Linked DNA regions of Homo sapiens: region 1 is linked to region 2. Evidence: promoter capture Hi-C in human tissues and cell types (Jung and others, 2019). All regions are on one chromosome and are shown on one strand. Each heading gives the region's core, a stretch centred on a gene start or on the middle of the fragment in contact. The rest is flanking DNA. Distances are from core to core; before and after follow the strand shown. Region 1 overlaps CALU (calumenin). Region 2 holds the start of CCDC136 (coiled-coil domain containing 136).

Region 1 (6,242 bases), core at 2,591-5,090, 36 kb after region 2:
TGGAGTAAATTGTTTCTATGGGCAAATACATCTTTCTTTCTTTCTTTTTTTGAGACAGTTTCACTCTTGTTGCCCAGGCTGGAGTGCAATGGCGTGTTCTCGGCTCACTGCAACCTCCGCCTCCTGGGTTCAAGCGATTCTTCTGCCTCAGCCTCCTGAGTAGCTGGGATTACAGGCGCCCGCCACCACACCCAACTAATTTTTTTGTATTTTTAGTAGAGACGGGGTTTCCCCATGTTGGCCAGGCTGGACTTGGACTCCTGACCTCAGGTGATCTGCCCGCCTCGGCCTCCCAGTGTTGGGATTACAGGCATGAGCCACTGTGCCCAGCCAGCAAATACACCTTTCAAAGCTTCTCAGCTTTTCTAAGAAAAACACTAAAAGCAGAGACTTACCAATATACTCTTCTAGATCAATGAAACCATCAGCATTCTTATCTATATCTTCCATTGTTTCCTAAACAGGAAAGAATAAGAAGAGACTATTAAGTTGGTCTCTGAATTTGCCAGAAGAAAGTAAAGTATCTAGTTTAGGTAAACATTTATTATTCATTAAACACACTTGTACATGTATGTATGTATGTATGTATGTATGCATGTGTGTCTGTATGGTTAAAACCATTTCTAGCCAAGAAATGGTAAAACATGAGCAATTTCCTATGCTTCAATCTAAAATAACTGAGTCTTCCTGACAGAACACTGACACTGCTTAATGACAAACTATCCCATCAAGCCCATGATGATCTACCTGGTAGCCTTAGTCATGCTAAAGTCACACTAACAGGAGATGTGACCAGTGATTATGTGTTTAGCTATAGATAGTCTATGTTGTCAGTAACTGCCTTCTGTGAGAGTTCTTTAGTATCACTGTTATTACTCAATGTCTGACTATTGGTCATGGGATATTTTAAATAATGGGATTTCCCCCCATTCTTACAATATGAAGCTACCAATGAAATGGCAAAATACATTATATGACAGAAGGTATTATCATACTAAACAGAATGCCCAAGGCACCTTGATCAAGGTCACAGAAAAACAGTGACAGACCTTGGATTCTGAATCTGGCCAATACTTATATAGCATATACAGTGATATGCTATATAGCATATATATATATAAGATATGCTATATAAGGCTAAAGGGGAAAGACAGAATAAGCCACAAAAAGAGAAACTGAGTCCCTGTTCAGAATCCTTCATCTCACCCACCTGTACTACTATATCTTTCATGTAGTCATACTCCTCAGGGTGCAGGAAAGCTGTGAACTCCTCCTTGGTGGCAATGAGGTCTCCATCCTTGTCTGCCATTTTAAACCTCCGCTCATCTCTAACCATCATCTGTTTATAGTTAAATCCATCATCAGGATCTGGATCATCTAGAAAACAAAAATTTAGGTCAAATCTTAAAAGACTTTCAGAAAACATGAAAATGTGTGGGGTGGGAAATCAATTTCCAATAAAGATAAAACCATGCAAGGAAGAAATAATTGATGACACAGGTAAAACTGCAGCAGTACAAAGACATTTAGTTTTGGGCTACAGCTCCAGGCATCAGATCTCAGAGTCAGCTCCAAGTTCACATGGAACTCTGGCTCCTGAACTATGTAACTCACTGTTATGCTTCACTATTGGTATTAAGGCTACTAGAAGGCTTGAATTTTCTAGTTACATCTGGAAGGCAGTGGTGGCTCTCAAGTCCCATACTGCCTGAGTTTGAACTCTACCATTTTCTAGCTGTTTGGCCTGTGTCTTGGTCTCTTTTATCTGTAAAATGGAGCTAGCAATGGTGCCGGCTTCATAGGATTGTTGTAAGGTTTAAATGAGAAAATATATCTAAGTGCTTAGAACAATGCCTGGCACATAGTTGGCTTTCAACAAATGTCAGTTATTGCTACTTTTATTAAACATTAGGATCTCATTAAAAAGATAGAAATCAAAGGCCTTCTACCTCACATAATGGACACTTGGATTCAAGCAATAGAATGCCACCACTTTGAAGGTCACATTCTGTTTTTTTTCAGTCAACGCAGAAATCTACCAAGAGTGACAGGTATTGTTCATCCCCATTTACGTAAAATTCTAGAAAATGCAAACTAACTTAGAGTCACAGAAAACAGATGAGTGATTGCCTAGGGACGGGGGAATGGCGAGAATGAGAAGGATTACCAAGGGACATGAGGAAATGTTGGGGGGGTAATGGATATGCTCATTATCGTGATTGCAGTGGTGGTTTCACTGGTAAATACATACGTCAAAACTCATCAATTATGCACTTAAATACATACAGTTCACTTTATGTCAATAATAACTTGACAAAGGTATACAAAAAAAAAAACCCTTAGATTACAACCAAATTGAATTTGGAACTACCCATCTGTTATGACATCGAGCTACACAAGCAGCAGTTATCTAGTCTCTATATAAGAATATAGAAAAGTGAAATTTAGTTTTTTAAGCTGAAAAAATGTGGCGTTAACTGCAGAAAATAAAATTCTTTTTCAATCTGCGTTCCTGTATAAACCAAATTAAGATAACAGACATGAAGATATTTTAAAAAGTAAAAGACACCACATTAATGGTAAGAAATTATTGTTCCTGCAACATATTGATTACATAAAAAGGATATGACACTGCTTTTATAAAAAAGACCCACAGGGCCCCTTTAAGAATAACATCATTACTGCTGACCTTTGAGATTGTTCAGTCTTTCCATACTTTAAGCACAGTTTAAAGAAACAAAAACAAAACTACTGTACTATTTTGAGAGTTGAGCATTTTGAAGCTTCATTTTTTATTGAGTGTCAAAAATTCAGTCAGACAGCTTAACGAGTCATAAGGCTTTGGGATCCTGTGTACACACACACACACACACACACACACACACACACTCAAAGCCATAATAGGTTGAGATGGAGAACGTAAGGCAAACAAGCCTTTCTCAGATACTAAAGTGTCTCTTCTAAACAAGGTTTCAGGACTATGTAACATAAATAAGAAACATAACAAGACAACTTATACTTTAAGACTAGATTCTTACATAAGTGCTCTCCTCCCCTCCTTGGGGTAAAAGGTAAAAATGGTGACTGGACTCAAATAGCCTAATAGCAACATGCACATATATATATAAGGAGGGAAACAGGAAGATACAATTTTTTTTTTTTTTAATTTATAGTCAGGTCCTTGTTCTGTGTGGCCCAGGCTGGAGTGCAATGCAATCATAGCTCAATGCAGTCTTGGACTCTGGGGCTCAAGCAATCCTCCTGCTTCGGCCTCCCAAGTAGCTAGGACTACTGACAAGTATTACCACTCCTGGCTAATTTTTAATATTTTTTTTGTAAAGACGGGGTCTGGCTTTGTTGCCCTGGCTGGTCGCGAATTCCCGGACTCAAGCAACCTTTCTGCCTCGGCCTCCCAAAATGCTAGGATTATAGGCATAAGCCACTGTGCCTGTCCAAAACTTTATTTTTAATGACAAAACCTATTTTCCTATAGCTCTGCTTGGAATGCTGTATTTATCCTAAGCACCAGTTTTGGCCCTAGCTGGCCTGTATACAGCTTTAGGTAGGCTCTTGATCTAGTTTTGCTATAGGCAGGGTAGATCTCAGTATTTCATATTTTCCTTGTGGCAGAGACAGTGTTAACCTTTCTCTCATGGATAGCGGATTCATTGAGACAGATTTTAACTAAGAGCTATGATGATTTATACCTGAACTCCAAATTGAATCAAGAACACACAGTAACAAAAACTCCTCACTTCTCTAAGCCGACTCATGACCCCCTCAGTGCTGTCCACCCTCATGCCTCTGGGGAAAGATGCCTTATAAAGACATTGCTTCCCAGCCAGTGCTTCAGCTTATGCAGTCTCAGGCAGCAGAAATACCCATTACGTTGAATCATCTGCCTTGTGAGGCAACAGAGCTCTCAACAGATTTTTATGCACATAATCATACACAGCACCGAAGAATCATTCTGGGCAGCAAGTGAGTGCCTAGGTCGGAGCTGAGATTTATTTACACACCATTTTGTTTAGATCACCAATAGCCTACTCTTTGCTTTGTATTTATCATTAATTCCAAATAAATCAGGAAGGTGTTGGGTCTCAGCCAGAGCAAGAAGCAGGATGCCTCTCCATCTGTGCTGACTGTTTAATACATGTGTTCTTAATTGGGTGAAGGATATGTTTGGTTCTTGGCTAAGTGTCAAGCATTGAGAGAGAGTGCCACTTTAGTCTTAGGAATGAGAACAAGCCTGACACAGAAATAAAAGTCTCTTCACCAGAAATGCATGCAGTCCTGTAATTAATGCAGACAGCTGGCTATCTGTGGGGAAACAGATCCATTATACACTCACTGTTAGTCAGTGGCGGAGAACGCTTGCTTTAACCCAGAAGGTTGCCTAATTTCCAGGATTAAAATGGAGAAAGTACCATTTATATTCATTTATATTAATACAATTCTTGTCTTAAACTGTAACCATGTACAACAGAGGAATTTCACAAATAAAAACACCCTGGATCATCAACTCAATAAGACTCACTGCCTAGTATTCAGCAGCAGGCAAGTGTTACAAGTAAAAGAAAATTACTAACAGGTGGCCCAAGCATACAAGCTATCAAATCAACAAAAAGCAATCAAATTAACATTTATTTGCCTTAAAGCACTTGCAAAGCAGGCTGATAAACTCATGTGCCAGAGAAAACAAATGGGAAATTTTCATTTCCAAACTTCAGTAAGCAGACATACTGAAATAGTTAAATTTTATTAAGGAAAACTATTTTATTAAGACTTCTCACCAGTTATAAAGAAATCTAATTTGGTTTGAATTTTAGGTCCAACACTTTACTGGGACCATGTCAAGAAACATCTCAAAGCCCCTTGCTTTGCACTGTTGGAAGTATGTAGCCTCATAGCCTCTTTTTTTTTTTTTTTTTTTTTTTTGGACAGAGCTCGCTCTGTCCCCAAGGCTGGTGTGCAGCAGTGCAATCATGGCTCGCAGCTGCCTCAACCTCCTGGGCTTAAGTGATCCTCCCACCTTAGCCTCCTGAGTATCTAGGACAGGTGTGTGCCACCATGCTTGGCTAATTTAAATTTTTTTTTTTTTTTTTGGTAGAGACAGGGTGTCCCTATGTTGCCCAGATTGGTCTCAAACTCCTGGGCCCAGGCAATCCTCCTGCCTCAGCATCCCAAAGTGCTTATAGGCGTGAGCTATCGGCACCCAGCCCAATGTATTCTTTTAAATGAAATCTACTCCAAAAATTGTCTCTATGAGGGATGACATAAAGAAAAAATGGTAAAATATATGTAAAATGCTAAAAATGTAGAAGATACCAGACTTCCAGACTTCAGAAAACAAAAATTAAACAAATTTAAAAATACATAATATACAAATTTAAAATTAATAAAGGGAATCAGCTTAGCACTGAATTGAACTATTTAAGATAAGCTTCCTTTCCTTTACTGTGTGACCCATTTGTTTCTTTGACTCAAGACCACGGTCCCTGCCAGGCTGACATCTTGCCCCTTACCCAGGTAAGTGCCATAAGTCACGTTTCTGTACTCATCCCAGGAGATTAAGCCGTCTTGATTCATATCAAACTCCTGCCATTGGTTTTCAACATTGTCATATATGTATTTCTTCTGGGCGTGCTTAATCCAGGATTTCAGCTCCCCCTCCGTCACAAACCCATCTTTATCCGCGTCTATTTTATCTACAATCATTCTACAAGACAAAACAGTTACGTTTCAAGGTGCCAGCTCCACAAGGCTTTTTCCCCCAGACAGTAGGGACCTACCTAAAACGTAGCCGTAGGTGGCATTTTTATACTCCTCCCAGGAAACGAGGCCGTCCTCATTGAGGTCATGCCCCTTCCACTGTCGCTCTACATCCTCGTAAATCCAGCGCTTTTGTGCAAATTTAATCCAGTCTTTGAGCTCATCCACAGTGACAAACCCGTCCTTGTCGCCATCTATTTTACTTACAATCTTTCTGTAGAAAATGCAGAGAAATCCAGCAAAAGGTTAAAAAGACACAGAACTCTGGACTTAGCCAGGTGTGTGCCCAGGGCTAATGCACAGAAATAAAAAATTGTCTCCAAAACAAAACTGCCAGGCCAGCAACTGAAAAAAATGGTCCATTACTGGTCTGTAATAAGCCACGTGAATAAGGTCAACACAGTCATGGCTGGTGCACTTGGATCCAAAAGCAAACTCAGCCTATCTCTTTGGAGGTAGATTTCAGCCTA
Region 2 (6,708 bases), core at 3,042-5,541:
GCTCAAATGTCATCTTCTCAAAGATGACTTTCCTAACTGCCATATCTAAAATAAACTCCCTTCAAGACCAGCCTGGCCAACATGGTGAAACTCCATCTCTACTAAAAATACAATAATTAGCCAGGTGTGGTGGCGCATGCCTGTAATCTCAGCTACTCGGGAGGCTGAGGCACTAGAATCGCTTGAACCTGGGAGGCAGAGGTTGAAGTGAGCTGAGATTGTGCCATTGCACTCCAGCCTGGGCAACAGAGTAAGACTCTGTCTCAAAATAAAATAAAATAAACTCCCATCCCACCTCCTCTCTGTATCATATTATTATATCGTGTTCATAGCATTTATTGCCATCTGAACTTGTGTTGTTTATTTTCTGCCTCTCTCCGTTAGAATGTACTCTTCATTAGGGCAGAGATGTGGTCTGTCTCATTCACAGCTGGTCCTCCAAGTATAAAGGCACCTCATAAATAGGTGATAAATAAATTAGTCCCATTTTACAGATAAGAAATGACATCTCAGAAAGATAAGTGACTTGCCCAAGATCACACAATTTCTAAGTGGTATAGCTGGGCCCAGGAATCTAGGTCATCCCAGATCAATGCCCACACTCTTCCCTATGTGACACGTGTCCTGCCACTTTCCTCCTCTGCAAGCCCCTTCACTGACCACCCTTCCTGTATCTACCTTTGCTTACATTTTCTGTCCCCGTCTCCTCTCCTCCCCACTTACACCTCTGCTTGCTCCTGTCCAGGCCTGCTTCCTGGCCTTCCTTTTTTTTCTCCATTTATACTTTTCTTTTGGCTTGATCTCAGTTCTCCCCAGAGTCCCTGCCGTTTTCTAGGGCAGCTCCCCTAAACCTTCCGGAGGCCCACAGAAGTAACAAAAGCTGCCTCTTTATTTGGTGGTGTGGTGGAATGTGGGGCATCTGCCTTGCTGCTTCCCAGAGACAAAGGGACGTGGGTGTTGGCAAAAAGGGATTTGGGGCCCACAAGCTCAGGTCCCAGGCAGCAACAGAAGTGCTGTCATCTGTCTCTCTTAATAGGTGCAGAGAGGCCCCACCAGTCACTTCTCATTGGCTTCATGCTTTCCCATGCCATCCTTGGAGGAACCAGAAAAAGGAATCCGGCTTGGAATTCAACTTGGATCACCCACCCCTGGCACTGACCAGGAGAACAAAGGGACAGGGATGCAGTATGAAGGAGGAGGCTGAAGGGGCAAGAGGAAAGAGCCCACCAGGGACAGGAGGTGACAGGGAGGCCAAGAAATGGAAGGGGAGGACAGAAGAGCCAGGTAGATGTGCAAAGAAAGAAAACTGGGGACAGAGGAGGATGGAGAGACAAGGAGAGGAAAAGGGTGAGACTAGTAGAGGAAAATGAGGTGAAATTACTGAATTTGGTTATTTTTATCTGCTGTGCTTCAGTCAAACCCTCAGGAAAAAAGTACTTAGGTGACCACTTGGATGGCCACCTCCCTCCAGTCCAAGTCCTGGGAATTACCTTGGAGCTGCTGGATCTGCTTGGTGAACACCTCTGCCTGCTGGGCGCTGGCTAGCCGTTCATCCTCCAGGAGCCCTGCAGGGAGAGGGGCACCAGTGTCAAGCTCGGATCCAGGGGAGTGCAGAGCCTCTGGGCCCGGGCACTGGGCCCTGGCCCAGGCACTCACCCTGTAGCTCCAAGGAGTCATCCTCATGCTGCCCTGCCAGTTCCCGGGTCTCCTCCAGTTCTGCCACCAGCTGCAGCACCTGAGCCCGCAGCTCCTCCAGCTCTGTCTCCGTGAGGCTCAGTCCCCGGTGCTTGTTGACTGACAGAGAGCCAACACTGCCACCTTTCTGCACTTGTTCTTCTTCTTCTTCCACCTCTTCTTCCTCCTCTTCCTCTTCCTCTTCCTCCTCATAGAGAGCTGGGAGTAACACCTCCCCTAGGAGACACAGCCATCCCACCAAGGAGTCAGCATCAACTTCCTTTCTGCCGTCCTTCCAGGGCCCTCAAACTCACTATGCCAGGGCAGAGATGACATACTAGTGCCACCTGGTGTCCCCCAAGGAGCCCCGGGGCAAGACCTGTACTCAAGATGAGTCCTCAGGTGTGAGAGTCAAGTTGAGAAGCAGCCCCTCCACCTCCCAGGCCCTTCCTGGACCAATGTTGCACTTGGTAGCCTCCTATCACTGCCTGTGGGCAGGCTGGTGCCCGCTCAGCCATGAGACACTTGCACAGGATTACCTGCTTCTTCTAGGCTGGCCTCTGAGTAGCAGGACAAGTAGTCAAGAAAGGAGACAGTGAGCGGATCTTTCGGTCAAATGGGGTAACAGTTACAGTTTGGAGATTTCTTGAAAGTTAAAAAACAAAACAAAACTGACCAGGCATGCTGGCTCATGCCTGTAATCCTAGCACTTTGGGAGGCTGAGGTGGGTGGATTACTTGAGGCCAGGAGTTCCAAACCAGCCCGGTCAACATGGTGAAACCCCTTCTCTACTAAAAATACAAAAAAATTAGCTGGGCGTGGTAGTACACGCCTGTAATCCCAGCTACTTGGGAGGCTAAGGCAGGAGAATCGCTTGAACCTGGGAACTGGAGGTTGCAGTGAGGCGAGATCGAGCCACTGGCACTCCAGCCTGGGCAACAGAGTGAGTCTCCGTCTCAAACAAACAAACAAACAAAAACAACCAAACAAAAACTATCCAGGTGGCTTGTGAAAAATCAGCCTTTCCATAATAAGAAAACATTGCCCGTCAGCAGGTAGAGAAAGAAAATATCTGATTGTAGAGGTTTCATTGGACAAACTCGGGCGCCCTTTCAAATGTATATTATTAAATACCTGTTTGAAATTTTCTACAAGGTCCACCTTGTTTTTCCCTGCTGCATGTCACAAGGTCTCCTCTCCCCTAGCTGAGCCATATGAGGCCCCTCCTACTCTGCTGACCACAAAGTAGATTTCAGGGGAAGTTTTAGGCTGTACTTGTGTGTAAAAGAAAGCCTACCATTTTAATGCATTAAAAAAACTGGGGTTTGGTGCTGGCCCCCAGCCTCTGGTTGTGAGCACCCGCTCCTTTACTGCAACGCAGTCCCTATAAATAGCAAAATGTTGTCTGGATGGTGATTGTTTGCTTTGTTTTAAAATTCTGAATCTCTGGTCTTACTTTATCTAATATCAGCAGCCTTAGGTTCAACTGGGACCCTTCGTGCCATCTGTCCCCCTTAGGGGGAGCAGGTTTGCCCATACTGAATGTGCAACGTGCAACACTTCACAGGAAGTACTGGCAAATGGACCAGCGTCCTTCCAGGGGCCTGGTGTTGGCAGCAACTGCCAAGTCACATGGGTGTGGTGGGGATACACGTGTGTTGGGAGGATGGCCTCACGCGCCCCCTCCTAGGCTCTCTCTTTCAGGCAATAAGGTATCCTAAAGAACCAAAGCCACAGGCTTCCATTCGAAGTTAATGTTGGTGGCCCCAGAAAGACAATTCACATGCCCAGTTCCTTGCTTTTTAAAATAAGAGACAGCTTGGGATCTGGGTCGGCAGGCAGTGAGGACAAACCCCCTGCTGAAAGGCTGCTTCAAAGCTCTGTCCAACAAGGCCTCTTTCTCTGTCTGGCAGCTCCCTCGGGACACATAACCTGGTTAGCTGGGGGGTGATTGGGGTCCCGAAGGGATGCATCCTGAACTTCTGTCAAAGCCTGAGCCCTGGGAAGGGCTGGAGCTCTGAGCTGCAGGAAGAGGGGCTAAGATGAACTGAGGGAAGGGCTGTGTCCTGGCTCAGAGGCCTGGGGGTCAGAGGGAGGAAAGAAGGGAATTAAGGGAGGAGGGGAGGGGAAAGAAAGAAGCCTTTTGGGAAAACTCACCCTCCATAGCTTGCATCCCCCGTCGTTCCAGGGACCCCCAGCGTTGGCCCTTCTTCCTCTCACAGCCCTCGGAAGCCTCATAGGAGCCTAGAGTGGTCACTGTGGGTCCTGAGAGCAGGGAGAAAGGAGGGGCTGGGGGGTGGGGGGCTGGCTGCGGGCTGGGGTGCAGAGGAAAGAAGGGGACATGTCTTCCAGCTCCTCGAGGCTCTGGGATCTGTAATCCCAGTGGAGGTGCCTGACTCACTCTGGCGGCTCTGCGACTCCTCTCTCTCGGCCACCTCTCAGCCCTGCCTCCCAGCCTCCTCAGAACCCGCTGTTCCAGGACCCTCTTGCTTGCACAGAAAGAAAGAGGGGGTGTGCGTATTTAGTCCGGGGGGACAGGGAGGAGAGGGCCAAGACTGAAAGAGGGCGGGAGCCAGTGAAGAAGAGGCTGAAAGGCTGAGGTGGCCTACAGATGGAGGGAGGGAGGAGTGGGGGGCGTGCGGGAAGGGGTAGGGCTGCGACCGCTCCCCTCCCCTCTCCTCCCATTCTCTCGCTGGACCTTGCCCACCCCACCCTCGCCCCGCGCTCAGGAGTCTCCGGGGCTGCAGGAGGTGTAGGGTCTGCAGTCCCGAAGGCTGGAAGCACCGTCGGACTGAAGTGGAGAGACGCGCTGGGGAGGGACCACCAGGCAGGATGCGGCCGGTGCGCGGAAGCCTCAGTCCCAGGCCGGAAGGATGGAGACCGGGCCCCGGTGGAGGCCAGGATGGAGGGAGGAAGACTTTGGGCGGAGAAAGGGGAGCCGCGGAGGCCGGGAGCACCTGGGGGTCTGGAAGGAGGAGGGATGGAGGAGAGAAAGGAGGGGCGGTAGACAGGTGACGGAGGGGCGGCTCTGACCTGGGCCCGGGCAGCTCCAGCCCGCGGCTCCCGCGCCGGCTCCGGCGCCCGCCTCCATGACCGCTCCCGCCGCCGCCTTCCGCCTCCCTGAGCAGAAGCCGCAGCCGCGAGCCCGGGGACCCGAGCCGGGTGCGCAGGGAGGGAGGGAGGGCGGACGAGGGGGCGGGGCCTGGCCGGGCCTCCTGACACCGCCCCCCGCCGCTCGCCGCCGCCCGGAAGCCCTCCCAGCACTCGGGAGCTCCGAGCCCGTGCAGGGGGCGGCGCGGGAGGGTGAGCGCGACCCCGGATACGCCCCAAGGCTCTCCCCTAGAGAGCGCGGGGAGCCGCGGGGCCCGGACAGCGTCAGGAGCTCCTAGGCTTATGGCTGCCCCAAGAGGGAGGAGCGAGATCCCCTGGTTCTGGCGGCGGGTCCCCCCGGGGTCTGCTGTGCCCAGGGACCCTTCTGCACCAGGTGTCAGGGCCCGGTCATGCTCAGCAATGGGGACGGCAAAGGACGAGGTGGGACTGTTTCCTCCAAAAGCGCAGACACGCGCGCCCCTCCTTCCCTCCCTCCCCCGCCCGGCCGGCGCCCCCACCTAGCAGTCCGCGCTGACTCCGGCCCCAGGCCCTGCCCACCCCTGCCCGGTGGCCCCTCGGCAGCCTGGGGGCCGGAGGAGGGAAGTCGAGGCCCGGATGGGCGAACGGCAGGGCCCTGACCTCTCCGCTTTCCGCGACCCCCCACCGAGCCAGGGCCAAGGACCCTCTTAGGAGGAGCCCTCCGGTGGCCCCATCAAGCCTCAGGGCCGGAAGACCCCCTCTCCTCCGCCCTGTCTTCCCTTCCGGTCCCACACCCGGTGGGCTGCGAGCCACGCCCCCACAGTAGCCCGCTCAGAGTGGGCACGACTGATGTTCACTCTCGTGGAAGGGAGATTTGGAAGCCCAGGGGGCTTATTTCACGTCTTCAACCATTCGTTTATTCAGGCTATGACTACTGGGTGCCGGCTCTTGAAGAGGCAGTTCTCACATCTCGGCAGGTCTCGGCAAGGATAGAAGTGGGCACAGTTGGGAACAGGGGCTCCCCAGCACATCCAGGAAATGGCTGGAAGATTCCTAAGCCAGGGACACACGCGGATCCCCTCTCTGGCACATCCACTCACAGGTCGAGGGCTAGTATTGTCTGCGTTCCCCCCGCTGCAGGAAAGGGATCCGGATCCAGACCGCAACAGAGGGTTCTTGAATCTCACGCAAGAAAGAATTCAGGGAGGTCCATAGGATAAACTAAAAGCAAGTTTATTAGGAAAGTAAAGGAATAAAGAATGGCTACTCCATAGACAGAGCAGCCCCAAGGGCTGCTTTTTTTGGTTATTTCTTGATGATATGCTAAACAAGGGGTGGTTTATTCCTGACACCCCCTTTCAGACAATGTAGGGTAACTTTCTGATGTTGCCATGGCATTTGTAAACTGTCATGGCACTGGTGGGAGTGTAACAGTGTGAGGATTACTAGAGGTCACTCTCACTGCCATCTTGGTTTTAGTGGGTTTTGGCCGGCTTCTTTACTGCAAGGTGTTTTATCAGCAAGGTCTTTATGACCTGTGTCTTGTGCCAACCTCCTATCTCATCCTGTGACTTAGAATTCCTTAAACGTCTGGGAATGCAGCCCAGTAGGTCTCAGCCTCATTTTACCCAGCTTCTATTCAAGATGGAGTTGCTCTGGCTCAAATGTCTCTGACATCCCACAGGCTCCCACGTCCACAAGCCATCCCTGTTCCACGGGAAGGAAGCCCTTCTTTGCCTGGACTTCCCCCTCCTTTTCAGCTGGGGGTCACCTCCAGGTGGCCTTCTCTGACTGGCACCCCATCCCTGCCCCACTAGGCGCTTTTGTGGTGCTCGCCCCTATTTGTCTGTAACAGCACCAGGCCCTCCGGGTTGTCCGGGCTCTGCCCAGTTTCCTGAAGGTTAGGGGGATCTTAGTTATCTTTGTATTTCCAGCATCTGACAGAGTTTCTGACACAGGATAAAT

What was found. The method cuts DNA at HindIII sites, captures the fragments that hold promoters and counts their contacts. A contact is called where the count stands out against the background at its distance.
Region 1: a contact is called between a fragment that was not itself captured here and the fragment with the promoter of CCDC136 in region 2, in 4 of the 25 tissues and cell types used here (aorta, hippocampus, lymphoblastoid cells and 1 more).

Annotation. Positions count from the first base shown.
Region 1 is chr7:128,754,006-128,760,247 of GRCh38, reverse strand. CALU (calumenin) reads right to left here. Exons shown (of 7, transcript NM_001219.5): 3 at 5,793-5,986; 4 at 1,211-1,377; 5 at 396-456. Among named protein-coding and RNA genes, the nearest start is that of CALU, 18 kb to the right of the region's middle. The HindIII fragment of the contact is 4,544 bases long and covers 1,569-6,112 here.
Region 2 is chr7:128,789,551-128,796,258 of GRCh38, reverse strand. It overlaps CCDC136 (coiled-coil domain containing 136), which reads right to left and starts at 4,291. Exons shown (of 18, transcript NM_022742.5): 1 at 3,832-4,291; 2 at 1,657-1,911; 3 at 1,491-1,565. The coding sequence starts at 3,847. RefSeq lists silencers at 4,908-5,176, 4,715-5,184. The HindIII fragment of the contact is 16,505 bases long and covers 1-6,708 here.